Regions from separate parts of the Homo sapiens genome. Here regions 2, 3, 4 and 5 are each linked to region 1. Evidence: promoter capture Hi-C in human tissues and cell types (Jung and others, 2019). All regions are on one chromosome and are shown on one strand. The core of a region is centred on a gene start or on the middle of the fragment in contact, and the rest is flanking DNA. Distances in the headings are between cores, read along the strand shown. Region 1 holds the start of C16orf87 (chromosome 16 open reading frame 87). Region 2 overlaps N4BP1 (NEDD4 binding protein 1). Region 3 has its middle 110 kb from the start of SIAH1. Region 4 has its middle 26 kb from the start of SIAH1. Region 5 overlaps LONP2 (lon peptidase 2, peroxisomal).

What was found. The method cuts DNA at HindIII sites, captures the fragments that hold promoters and counts their contacts. A contact is called where the count stands out against the background at its distance.
Region 2: a fragment that was not itself captured here is called in contact with the fragment with the promoter of C16orf87 in region 1 in 1 of the 25 tissues and cell types used here (spleen).
Region 3: a contact is called between a fragment that was not itself captured here and the fragment with the promoter of C16orf87 in region 1, in 1 of the 25 tissues and cell types used here (dorsolateral prefrontal cortex).
Region 4: a fragment that was not itself captured here is called in contact with the fragment with the promoter of C16orf87 in region 1 in 1 of the 25 tissues and cell types used here (dorsolateral prefrontal cortex).
Region 5: a contact is called between a fragment that was not itself captured here and the fragment with the promoter of C16orf87 in region 1, in 1 of the 25 tissues and cell types used here (dorsolateral prefrontal cortex).

What each region holds. Positions count from the first base shown.
Region 1 is chr16:46,829,854-46,832,464 of GRCh38, forward strand. C16orf87 (chromosome 16 open reading frame 87) reads right to left here and starts at 1,327. Exons shown (of 4, transcript NM_001001436.4): 1 at 1,231-1,327. The coding sequence starts at 1,296. RefSeq lists a silencer at 1,024-1,673. The HindIII fragment of the contact is 8,650 bases long and covers 1-2,611 here.
Region 2 is chr16:48,579,847-48,582,457 of GRCh38, forward strand. The region is part of intron 1 of N4BP1 (NEDD4 binding protein 1); the gene reads right to left. Among named protein-coding and RNA genes, the nearest start is that of N4BP1, 29 kb to the right of the region's middle. The HindIII fragment of the contact is 7,549 bases long and covers 1-2,611 here.
Region 3 is chr16:48,495,256-48,497,866 of GRCh38, forward strand. It overlaps the pseudogene MOCS1P1. Among named protein-coding and RNA genes, the nearest start is that of SIAH1, 110 kb to the left of the region's middle. The HindIII fragment of the contact is 4,156 bases long and covers 1-2,611 here.
Region 4 is chr16:48,357,863-48,360,473 of GRCh38, forward strand. It overlaps a transcript of LONP2 not described here. Among named protein-coding and RNA genes, the nearest start is that of SIAH1, 26 kb to the right of the region's middle. The HindIII fragment of the contact is 5,602 bases long and covers 1-2,611 here.
Region 5 is chr16:48,263,841-48,266,451 of GRCh38, forward strand. The region is part of intron 6 of LONP2 (lon peptidase 2, peroxisomal); the gene reads left to right. Among named protein-coding and RNA genes, the nearest start is that of ABCC11, 18 kb to the left of the region's middle. The HindIII fragment of the contact is 4,072 bases long and covers 1-2,611 here.

The DNA.
Region 1 (2,611 bases), core at 77-2,576:
AAGAATTCTCCTTGAAAAATGCACTAAAATCAGCTTATTAAAAAGTCTCCAGCCATTTCAAATTACTCTTGATTTAAAAAAAAAAAAAGGCGGTGGGGGGAGGGGAGGAGAGAAAGGTAGTCATTTTGAAAAAATCCACTCAGTGGAAAAGGAAAAAACACACCCAGATCTACATGTTGGTAACAAACGAGGGCCTTACGAATGGTTTTAACTGAAGTAGTTTTAACTCATTAGATGTTAAGGCTTAAAGGAATGTCTATTATTCCAGTAAAGAATTGAGACACGCTTCAACACAGCGATCACTGAAATGAGATGTTTTAAATTACAACTATTACACCATGAACTCAATGTAGAAAGGAATCGTTTCAAATTCAAGAAACGAGATAGAGAGATAGAGAGATAGAGAGAGACAGACAGAGAGAGAGAGAGAGAGAGAGAGAGAGAGAGAGAGAGAGACACACAGAGACATTCAGACAGACAGGGATACAGATCTGGAAGCAGACAGGCCAAATTTGTAACAGTGGATACTGCGAGGGGTGGGGAAGTTAGGAGCGCCCAAAAAGGAGGAAGGGCTTAAACAGGGGCTTTATTCAATCATGACCCATTAAAAACGATGTAAAGGCAGGATTCGCGATTGCACAGCAAAAATATAATAAATAGATGAGGAAGGGGAAAAAATCTCCAAATTCGCCGAAACTCAAAATCATTACACGCGGCCCCCTTTGTCCCACTCAGGCGCCCGCCCCGGTCGCGGAGGGGCCGTTTTGGGGAAGCCCCGCACCCGTCGGAACCGGGAACAAAGCCGCCCCGGCCGCAGGAGGGGTTCTCGGAGCTAGGGCCTGGCCTCGGAGGCGGGCGTGCGGCACACTCTCGCCGGGGCTGCGGCCCGCAGGCTCCCACCGCTGTCACCGCCGCCGGCGAGGAGAGTCTGGGGCTCCAGACAGCCGCCCGGTGAGCCCACCAAAGGCGCGCTCCTCCAGTGGCCGGGACACAGCAAGAAGGGGCTTGGCCGTCTGGCCGCCGCCAGGTGGACGCTGGCGGGCCACGGCCCCGGGCTTTTCCCGGGAAACCCCTCGGTGCAGCCCGACCGGCCCCGGATCCCCGCCGCCGCCGGCGGGCCCCAGGATCTGCCCACCGCTCGGCCTCCGGGAGCCCGGCGAGGCCCCCCTCCACAGACAACGGCCGCCAAGCCACTGCCGCCCGCCCGCGCGCCCGGCCCCCGGCACCCACCTGTTGGTCGCACTCGGGGCATGATTTGGTGGCCATCTTCACTTTCTTGGCTCGAGTTGCAGACATGCTCCTCTCCCTTAGCGGCGGCAGCAGCGACGGCTCGGGCTCCTCCCCTCACACTTCGGCAGCCCGGCCTCCGCCCGCCCAGTCCCCGCGGGCCTCAAACAAGCCTCTGGCGGGTGCGCGCGCGCGCGTGCGCGAGCTCGCGCGGGACCTGGGCGCCAAGGGGGCGGGGCGGAGCGTCGGCCGGCGGCTCCTGGGGACCGCGACACGCGCTCCCACGGCGGCTCGCGACCCACAGCCCGCCCGCGAGCTCGCCCAGAGTATCACGAGACGAGGGGAGACCTCCCCCCCCTCCGCCAGACCGCCCCGGCGCGGCAGTGGCCACGCCTCCTCTCGGCCTGGCCGACTACGAGGGGGCAAGGCCTGGGCGGGACTCGGCAGTAACGGGCGTCGAGTTCGACCAACGAATGCATAGGTAGGGCGGGCCGTAGTGCTGGGCACGCCCCATCCCCACAGAGACCGTGGGAGCGAAGGCTGGGGAATGAATGGTGAAGGGCGTAGCGTGGATCCTGGCATTTAATAAACTTAAGTAGATGTTACCAAGGCTAATCATTGAGAAATTATGATAGACATTTTATGAGACCACTGGACCCAGCAGCAGAGTGAAAATTCATTTATTTATTCAATATATAATTGCCTAAGTCCCACTGTCAGGAAAATTTGAATAAAATGCAGTGTCAGCCTTCAAGGAGCAGCCTAGCTGTGTAAACCAGTGCTACTCACTATCAAGATGAGGGATCAGATGTTTTTCTTTTTCCAATCTGTCCGTGACTGATACTTACTAAATTAACATTAAAATTAAATTATTCGAGGCTGGGCGCAATGGCTCACGCCTGTAATCCCAGCACTTTGGGAAGCCGAGGAGGGCGGATCTCTTGAGCCCAGGAGTTCCAGACCACCCTGGGCAACATAGCGAGACCCCCATCTCTACAAAAAGTAAAAGATTTTTAAAAATTAGCTGAGCGTGGTGGCCCATGCCTGGAGTCCTAGCTAGTAGAGAGGCTGAGGTGGGAGGATCGCTTGAGCCTATGAGATTGAGGCTTCAGTGAGCCGAGATTGTGGCCACTGCACTCCAGCCTGGGCGACAGAGCGAGACTCCGTCTCAAAAAAAAGAAAAAGAAAGAAAAAGTGAAATTTAAAAACAACTATGCAAAACGTAAGCTTACTTTTAAATATTTAATTTGACAGACCCAAAGTTATACTTAATAAACAATCAGAACAAACATAACAGAAAGAAAATTTACAAACTGTACACTTGGCTCAGAGAAAATTTACCAATATGCATTTATTACAGAGACTGGCTATTCCACTGATAACT
Region 2 (2,611 bases), core at 65-2,564, 1.7 Mb after region 1:
AAAAACTATTAGAAGAAACAAAGTCATTATAAAATATTAAAGGGGTCAATTCAGCATGACAGTATAACAACTATACATACATATATATATATATGTACACACTCAAATACATAAGGCAAATATTAATAGATTTGAAGGGATAGACTATAATACAATAACTGTAAGGAACATCAACACACCACTTTCAGTTCAAGACCAGCCTGGGCAACATGGCAAAATCCAGATGGAAATTAAGATTAGATTAGAAATAAATGAAAGATTAGAGCAGAAATAAATGAAACAGAGACTATAAAAATAGAAAATATTAATAAAATGAGTTGTTTATGAAAAGGTTTTAAAAATTCATAACCCTTTAGCTAGACTAAGAAAAAAGAGGAGACAAAATCAGAAATGAAAAAGTAGATATGACAACTGATACTGCAGATTTACAGAAGATCACAAAAAACTATTATGAACAATTATACACGAACAAATTGGATAACTCAGAAGAAATGGATAAATTCCTTGACACATACAACCTACCAAGATTGAATTAGGAATAGAAAACCTGAAGAGACTAATAATGAGTGAGACTAAATCAGTAATAAGAAGTCTCCTATCAAAGAAAAGCCCAGGAACTGATGGCTTGCTTCACTGCTGAATTCTACCAAACATTTAAAGAAGAACTAATGTCAATTCTTCTCAAACTCTTCCAAAAAACTGAAGAGGAGGAAATACTTCCAAATTCATTTTTGAGGCCAGCATTACCCTGGTACCAAAACCAGATGAGGATAAAACAAAAAAAGAAAACTGCAGGCCAATATCCCTGATGAACACAGATACAAAAACCTTCAACAAAATATAGTTGGCCTTCTCTATCTGTGGTTTCCGCATCCATGGATTCAACCAACCACAGATTGAAAATACTCAGAAAAAAAATTACATTTGTCCTGGACATGTACAGACTTTTTTCCTGTCATTATTCCCTAAAGAATACAATATAACTATTTATATCACATTTACATTGTATAAGGCATTATAAGTAGGTCAAGGAGGTCAAATCATCTCAAGATGATTTAAGTATACAGGAAAATATACATAGATTATACGCAAACACTATACCATTTTATACCAGGGACCTGAGTAGCTGCAGATTTTCATATCCGTGAGAGATCCTGGAACCAATCACCCACAAATGACAAGAGACTACTGTAATAGCAAAGAGAATTCAATAACACATTAAAAAGATCATTCACTATAATCAAGTAGGATTCATCCAAGGAATGCAAGGATGGCTGAACAAATACAAATGCAAATGAAAAAACAGGATACATTACATTAACAGAATGAAAAACAAAAGCCATATGATCAGTTCAATGAATGCCAAAAAAGCATTTGATAAAATCCCATGCCTTTTCATGATAAAAAAAAAAAAATCCCAACACTTCAACACAATAAATGCCACATATGATAAATCTGCAACTCATAACATACTCAGTGAAGAAAAATTTAAGGCTCTTCCTGTAAGATCTGGAACAAGACAAAGAAGCCCGCTCTTTCAATATGGTATTCAAAGTTTTAGAGCAATTAGGCAAGAGAAATATAAGACATCCACACTAGAAAGAAAAAAGTTAAACTGTTCCCAGATGACATGATTTTACTATATAGGAAACCCCTAACAGTCCACCAAAAAAACCCCCAGAATTATTGAATTCCATAAAGTTGCAGAATACAAAATCAACACAAAAATCAGTAGTGTTTCTAAACTAACAGTGAACTACTTAGGAATAAATTTAACCAAGGAGTTCAAAAATCTTTACACAGAAAACGAAAACACTGACAAAAGAAATTGAAGACACAAATAAATGGAATGATATCCCAGGACAATCTCTTCAATAAATATATTGGGAAAAGTATACAACCACATGCAAAAGAATGATATTAGATCCTTATCTCGCATCATATACAATAATCAACTAAAGATGGATTAAAGACTTAAAGGTTAAGACTCCAAACTATGAAACTACTAGATGAAAACATAGAGGAAAAGCTTCACGACATTGGTCTGGACAATGATTTTTTTAAAATACAACCACAAAAGCAGAGGCTACAAAAACAAAAATAGACTAACAGAATTACATCAAATAAAAACCTCTGGACAAGCAAGAAGCCAATCAACAGAGATTACCTACAGAATGAGAGAAAATATTTGCAAACTATACACATAAGAGGTTAATATCCAAAAATATAAAAGGAACTCAAAACAACAAGAGCAAGACAACAATCCAATTAAAAAATGAGCAAAAGATTTGAATAGACACATTTATCAAAAGAAGATATACAAATGGCCAACAGGTACAGTAGTGAGTCCCCCCTTATGTGTGGTTTCAGTTACCCTTGGTCAAGCATGTTATGAAAATATTAAATAGAAAACTCCAGAAATAAGCAATTCATAAAAATTTTTAATTGTGCCCTCTAAGCAGTGCAGTGAAATCTTCCGCTATCCAGTATTGGAATCATTCCTCTGTCTGGTATATCCACGCTGTATATACTACCTGCCCAACAGACAGTAGCTGCCTTGGTTATCAGATCGACTGTAGCAGTATCTAGGTGGCCATCTTCAAGTTGCCCT
Region 3 (2,611 bases), core at 71-2,570, 1.7 Mb after region 1:
CCAGTTACAAGGATCAAGACTGTACACAAACATTGCTAACTTACCCTTGGTTGAGAACCACTGACCCTAGGATAAGACCATGTTCAGAGACGTACACTTAAAAATATCCCTAGGAGATTCTAATATGTAACGAGGGTTGAGAACTATTGATATAAGCCAATTAGTCAATCCAGTTTCTTGTAGGTTTTTCCAGGTTCCCTTGCAGCTATGTGTGGTCATGTGACTTAGTTCTGGCCAGTGAGATTTAAGTGGAAGTTTGCTTTGCTAGAGGGTTTGTGAGAGGAGGTCTAAGAAAGCTTGTACTTTATTGATGAAAGGTGACAGACATAGCTCTTGTTTCCTGCCTACTCTCCTCTTTTTCCTGTTTGTATGAAGCTGTGATGTTTGGAGTTGTGGCCACCAACTTGTAATCAAATGAAGACAAGCATGAATATAAAAACTAGCCTGTTAAGGATGGCAGACAGGAAAGACAGGGAAGGCATAAAATAAAAAATTTATTTAAATTTTTATTTTATTTTAAACTGGGTCCCTGCTGGCAGTTTTTGGCAGCTGAACCAACAATAAGCAGGACTTGTTTAGTGAGTACAAATTTCTCCCTGTGTGTTTAAGCTGCTGTAGGCAGGTTTTTGTTATCTGAGTGAAAATCAATCACAATTACTACAGTTACGAATGTAATAAAAGGAAGAAGAAAAATAGATTACTGGTAGGATAGAGATGGGAAGGAAAGAGAATACTGTAAACAAGCTAAATCCTCATCTCTCATAACAGGAAGTATAAAGGGATGAATAAAAACAGTTGTATATATATCTCCAAAAGAATTGAAAACATATGTGCACACAAACACTTATATATGAACGCTCACAGCAGCGTTATTCATAATAGCCCCAGGTGGAAACAGTGTAAATGTCCACCAACTAATGAACGGATAAACGAAATGTAGTCTATACATACAATGTAGTCTATGCATACATTACTTTATGACCAGCTGTCATAAAGTAATGGGGCACTGACACACGCTACGACATGGATGAACCCTGAAATCATTACACTAAGTGATAGAAGCCAATCATACAAGGTTACATATTATGTGATTCCATTTGTATGAAATGTCCAGAAAAGGTAAATCTATAGAAACATAAAGTAGATGTGCCTGGCGCGGTGGCTCACCCCTGTAATTTCAGCACTTTGGGAGGCCGAGGCAGGCAGAGCATTTGAGGTCAGGAGTTCGAGGCCAGACTGGCCAACATGGTGAAACACCACCTCTACTCTATATACAAAAAATTAGCCGGGCGTAGTGGTGCATGCCTGTGATCTCAGCTACTCAAGAGGCTGAGGCAGGAGAATCGCTTTTGCCCGGCCAGTGTGCTCCCGAAGCCGGCTGAGGGCCGCAGCTCTGCCGGGATCAGGCTTCACGGTGGCGCGGCCGCTGTCCCGGATGCTGCGCCGGCTCCTAAGGTCCAACGCCACGGAGCTGCAGCTCACGGGTTCCGGTGATGCCGCCCCGCCCGGGCGAGTCCCCGCAAGCTGCCTCACAGGAGCTGTCCAGGTGGAGGCAGTTCTCGCGGGAGCACGAGGCCCCCTTCTCCGCCTTCCTCACAGACAGCTTCGGCGGGCAGCACAGCTACCTGCGGATCTCCCTCCCGGAGAAGTGCAACCTCAGATGTCAGTACTGCATGCCGGAGGAAGGGGTCCCGCTGACCCCCAAGGCCAACCTGCTGACCACAGAAGAGATGTTGACCACAAAAGAGATCCTGACCCTCGCCTGGCTTTTTGTGAAGGAAGGCGTCGAAAAGATCTGGCTCATGGGCGGAGAGCCGCTCATCCAGCCGGACGAGGTGGACATTGTGGCCCAGCTCCAGCGACTGGAAGGGCTGAGGACCATTGGTGTCACCACCAATGGCATCAACCTGGCCCGGCTGCTGCCCCAGCTTCAGAGGGCTGGTCTCAGCGCCATCAACATCAGCCTGGACACACTGGTGCCTGCCAAGTTTGAGTTCATTGTCCGCAGGAAAGGCTTCCACAAGGTCATGGAGGGCATCCACAAGGCCAATGAGCCAGGCTACAACCCTGTGAAGGTGAACTGTGTGGTGACGCGAGGCCTTAACGAGGATGAACTCCTGGACTTTGCGGCCTTGATCAAGGGCCTCCCCCTGGACGTGGCCTTCATAGAGTACATGCCCTTTGATGGCAACAAGTGGAACTTCAAGAAGATGGTCGCTATAAGGAGATGCTAGAAACTGTATGGCAGCTGTGGCCAGAGTTGGAGAAGCTGTCAGAGCAGGAATCCAGGACAGCCAAGGCCTTTAAAATCCCTGGCTTCCAAGGCCAGATCAGCTTCATCATGTCCATGTCTGAGCATTTCTGTGGGACCTGCAACCACCTGCAAATCACAGCTGACGGGAACCTCAAGGTCTGCCTCTTTGGAAACTCTGAGGTATCTCTACGGGATCACTGTGATCTGGGGCCTCCAAGCAGGAGCTGCTGAGAATCATTGGCGCTGCCGTGGGCAGGAAGAAGCAGCAGCATGCAGGCATGTTCAGTATTTCCCAGATGAAGAACTGGCCCATGATCCTCATCGGTGGGTGACCCCCATCAAGACATTTTTGATGTT
Region 4 (2,611 bases), core at 49-2,548, 1.5 Mb after region 1:
AGGAAAAACTGTTCCCCAAAAATTAACACACCAAACTGGCCCATGATTAAATAGGACAATTTCAAGTTTAAGGGTATAAAAGCAATAGAACAAAGTTAATAAGTATCTCCCATACCTACCCCATGTACAGCCTCCTGAAAGACACCAAAAATAAGAAATGGAGGAAGTCTTCGTTATAACAAGCAATTTCAGGACAAGAGTTATGCCTCATAAATCAAATGTGTAATGGACCAAGAAATATGGCTATAGATCTTACCTCTATAGGCTAAGAATATGAAGACCCAAATGCAAATAGTTAATACTAAAATGTCAAGCTTATTAACTGTTAAACACAAAATGTACTACCTTAATTTGCTTAAATTAGCAAAACATGAGGTGAAAATGAAAATGGAAAACTTCACACAGTTACTGGTGTCCTCTGGAACCTCTCCAGAAAGCAATGATGAAGTGTGTAAAAAATAATCCCAAGAATATAAACAGAAAACATACAGGTATGTTCATGGTTTACTTATATCCAGCAAGAACCTAGGTAAAATTACAGTGAATCCTCAAACTAACAAAAATTATTTTTCCAAGATTATTAAAGTGGTGAAACACTCAGATGACCATGTTGTGTGATGAAAGGCCTACAAGGTAATACATAAAAGGGCTCCCAATATCTTTGAAAATAAACATGTGGCTGGAGCCAGCTGCTCATGCCTGTAATCCCAGCACTTCAGGAGGCCAAGGCAGGAGGATCACTTGAGCCCAAGGGGTTTGAGACCAGCCTGGGCAACATAGCGAGACCCCATCTCCACAAAAAAATTTAATTAGCCAAGCATGATGCCATACACCTGTACTCTCAGCTACGCAGGAGGATGAGATGGGAGGATCACTTGAGCCCAGGAGTTTGAGGCTGCAGTGAACCGATTGCACCATTATACTCCAGCCTGGGTGACAGAGGATGAGCATATGTACATACACATAAAAAAAACTGGAAAAATAAAAATGTCACCTGAGTGGACAGTTAAGATTACACATCTCAATTGTATGTGCAGTTTTATAATTTCCAAAGTCTACATGAACTTTATAATCAAAACACTTAATAGTAAAACTACAAAATGATATACCTCCACGAATATACCCAATATGTTTTGTTTTTTGAGCCAAGAGTCTCAGTCCGTCACCCAGGCTGGAGTGCAGTGATACGATCTTGGCTCACTGCAACCTCCGCTTCCTGGGTTCAAGGGATTCTTCTGCCTCAGCTTCCCTAATAGGGTGTGCCATCATGCCTGGCTTTTTTGTACTTTTAGTAGAGACAGGGTTTCACCATGTTGGTCTCGAACTCCTGACCTTAAGTGATCCGCCCACCTTGGCCTCTCAAAGTGCTGGGATTACAGGTATGAGCCACAGCGTCCAGCCACGTTTATTTTGAAAGATATTGGGAGCCCTTTTACATATTATAATGTAACCCTTTCACCATACAACATTAAATATGGAATAAAAGTCACTTTTTCCAAGCACACATGCTAATGAACAGACTTGAATATAAATCTGTGGTTGAACTGTTGTTCTCTTTCACCATAAAAATGGCTACGCAAGGCCGGGCGCGGTGGCTCACGCCTATAATCCCAGCACTTGGGAGGCAGGCGGATCACAAGGTCAGGAGATTGAGAACATCTTGGCCAACATGGTGAAACCCCGTCTCTACTAAAAATATAAAAATTGGCCGGGCATGGTGGCACGTGCCTGTAGTCCCAGCTACTCTGGAGGCTGAGGAAGGAGAATCGCTTAAACCCAGGAGGCCGAGGTTGCAGTGAGCCGAGATCACGCCACTGCACTCCAGCCTGGGTGACAAGAGTAAAACTCCGTCTCAAAAAAAAAAAGCTCCACAAGCACATTATAACCAGTTCAAAAGATATTTATGTAAGGAAGAGACTACACAATCATCTTTTCTGAAAATGGATAACAGAAATAAACTCTTATCCAAAATTATCCAGAATCAGTGGTGGGATAAGGGTGAAGCCCAAATTTTCATTGACTTTCTAGGCTTACAGTACCCATAAAAACCACACAAAATTCTCTTTCACCATTCAGAAGGCAATTTCAGAATCTTGCCATGTGCCTCAAAGTAATTAGCAACAGTTAACTACATGGTACTGAAGGCATAATGGTAGCTAACATTCGCTGGATGCTGATATGAGCAAAGCACTGTTTCAGGTAACATACCTGTACCCCATTTAAAGGTTTTAAGTATCTACCATAATTTAACCCCACTTTACACATTAGGAAACTGGGGCCCAAGGTCACACAGCTGGTTAGTGGGGTAGAGCCGAGACTGGCACTTAGGTGCCTGGAAGTCTGGTTGCAGAACCAAGGCTCTTAGCCACTAGGCTATGAAATAGTGAATTTATTATATCATTGTGCTTTTTTAAAGAGGTGAAAAGTGGTCAGCATTTTAGTCATTCTCCTGACAGTTGTAAGAATCAAAATGTGGGCAAGAGGGGCAGGGCATGGGAAAGACTAATCCAGAGGCCATATACCCAGTTATTTGCTGTGATTAGAGTTAAGTCTACCGCACTTAAAAATGACAACACACAGCTTTCTGCTATATAATTAAAGTATGGAATGA
Region 5 (2,611 bases), core at 31-2,530, 1.4 Mb after region 1:
ATTTTCCTAAGCATTGGCTGGCTTGAGAAATAAAGAGACAGAGTACAAAAGAGAGAAATTTTAAAGCTGGGTGTCTGGGGGAGACATCACACGTTGGTAGGATCCGTGATGCCCCACAAGCCACAAAAACCAGCAAGTTTTTATTAGGGATTTTCAAAAGGGGAGGGAGTGTGCGAATAGGTGTGGGTGACAGACATCAAGTACTTAACAGGGTAATAGAATATCACAAGGCAAATGGAGGCAGGGCGAGATCACAGGACCACAGCTCCGAGGCGAAATTAAAATTGCTAATGAAGTTTCGGGCACCATTGTCACTGATAACATCTTATCAGGAGACGGGGTTTTGAGATAACGGATCTGACCAAAATTTATTAGATGGGAATTTCCTCTTCCTAATAAGCCTGGGAGCGCTATGGGAGACTGGAGTCTATCTCACCTCTGCAATCTCGACCATAAGAGACAGGTACGCCCCGGGGGGGCCAGTTCAGAGACCTACCCCTAGGTGCGCATTCTGTTTCTCAGGGACATTCCATGCTGAGAAAAAAGAATTCAGCGATATTTCTTCCATTTGCTTTTGAAAGAAGAGAAATATGGCTCTGTTCTGCCCGGCTCACCAGCGGTCAGAGTTTAAGGTTATCTCTCTTATTCCCTGAACAATTGCTGTTATCCTGTTCTTTTTCCACGGTGCTCAGATTTCATATTGCACAAACACACATGCTGTACAATTTGTGCAGTTAACGCAATTATCACATAGTCCTGAGGCCACATACATCCTCCTTGGCTGACAGGATTAAGAGATTAAAGTAAAGACAGGCATAGGAAATCACAAGAGTATTGATTGAGGAAGTGATAAGTGTCCATGAAATCTTTACGATTTATGTTTAGAGATTGCAGTAAAGACAGGCATAAGAAATTACAAAAGTATTAATTTGGGGAACTAATAAATGTCCATAAAATCTTCACAATCCACGTTCTTCTGCCATGGCTTCAGCCGGTCCCTCCGTTTGGGGTCCCTGACTTCCCGCAACACGCTGTACCAATTTACATTCCGAACAACAGTGTACAAGGGTGCCCTTTTCTCCATATCCTCACCTTCACTGATGATGGTTTTTTTGTTTGTTTGTTTGTTTTTTTAAATAATGGCCATCCTAACAGGCATAAAGTGCTTTCTCATTGTGGTTTTGATTTGCATTTCCCTGATGATTAGTCATGATAAGCACCTATTTGATTTTTTGCCGTTAAGTTTCATGAGTTCCTTGTGTATTTTGGATATTAACCCCTTATCAGAAATATGGTTTGCACATATTTTCTGCTGTTACATAGGTTGCCTTCTCATTTTGCTGAACTTTTTTTATTCTGTACAGAAGCTTTTCAGTTTGATATAATTTCACTTGTTCATTTTTGCTTTTGTTGCCTTGACTTTGGTGTCAATATCCAAAAATACCATGCCCAGACCAATGTCAAGGAGCTTTTAAAATATATTTTGTTCTAGGAGTTTTACAGTTTCAGGCCTTACATTTAAGTCTTTAATCCATTTTGAATTAATGTTTGTACATGGTGTCATATAAGGGTTCAAGTGCATTCTTCTGCCTGTGGGTATCTGGTTTTCCCACAACATTTTCTTGAAGAGACTGCCCTTTCCCTATTGTATATTCTTGGTGCCCTTGTTGAAAATTGGTTGACCTTCTAGGTAACTTTATAGGTTTATTTCTGGGCCCTCTATTCTATTCCATTGGTCCGTGTGTCTGTTTTTGTGCCAGAATCATACTCTCTGATTACTGTAGCTTCGTAATATAACTTGAAGTCAGAAAGTCTGGTGCCTCCACGTTTGTTCTTGCTCAAGATTGGTTTGGCTATTCAGGGTCTTTTGTAATTTCTTATTAATTTTAGGATTTTTAAATCTATTTTTGTGAAAAATGTCATTGGAATTTTAATAGGGATTACATTGAACTTGTAAATTGCTTTGAGTGGTATAGACATTTTAACAACATTCTTCTAGTCTACGAACATGTAATATCTTTCCATTTATTTGTGTCTGACTTATTTCATCAGTGTTTTATAATTTTTAGTGTACAGACATTTTACCTCCTTGGTTAAGTTTGTACTTAAGTATTTCATTCTTTCTGAAACTATTGTAAATGAGATTGTTTCCTTAATTTCTATTTATTTATTTATTTTTTTGACAGGAGTTTCACTCTTGTCGCCCAGGCTGGAGTGCAGTGGCATGATCTTGGCTCACTGCAACCTCTGCCTCCCAAGTTCAAGCGATTCTCCTGCCTCAGCCTCACGAGTAGCCTTAAATACAGGCACCTGCCATGACACCCGGCTAATTTTTTGTATTTTTAGCAGAGACGGGGTTTCACCATGTTGGACAGGCTAGTCTCGAACTCTTGACCTCAAGTGATCCACCTGCCTCGGCCTCCCAAAGTGCTGGGATTACAAACGTGAGCCACTGCGTCTGGCCCTTAATTTCTCTTTGGAGAAAGGTTTTTTTTTTTTTTGAGCTTTATTGAAGTGTAATTGACGTACAGTAAACTTCACAAATGTAGTATGTACATTTTGATGAGTTTTGACTTACATATACATCTGTAATACCATCACCATAATTAAG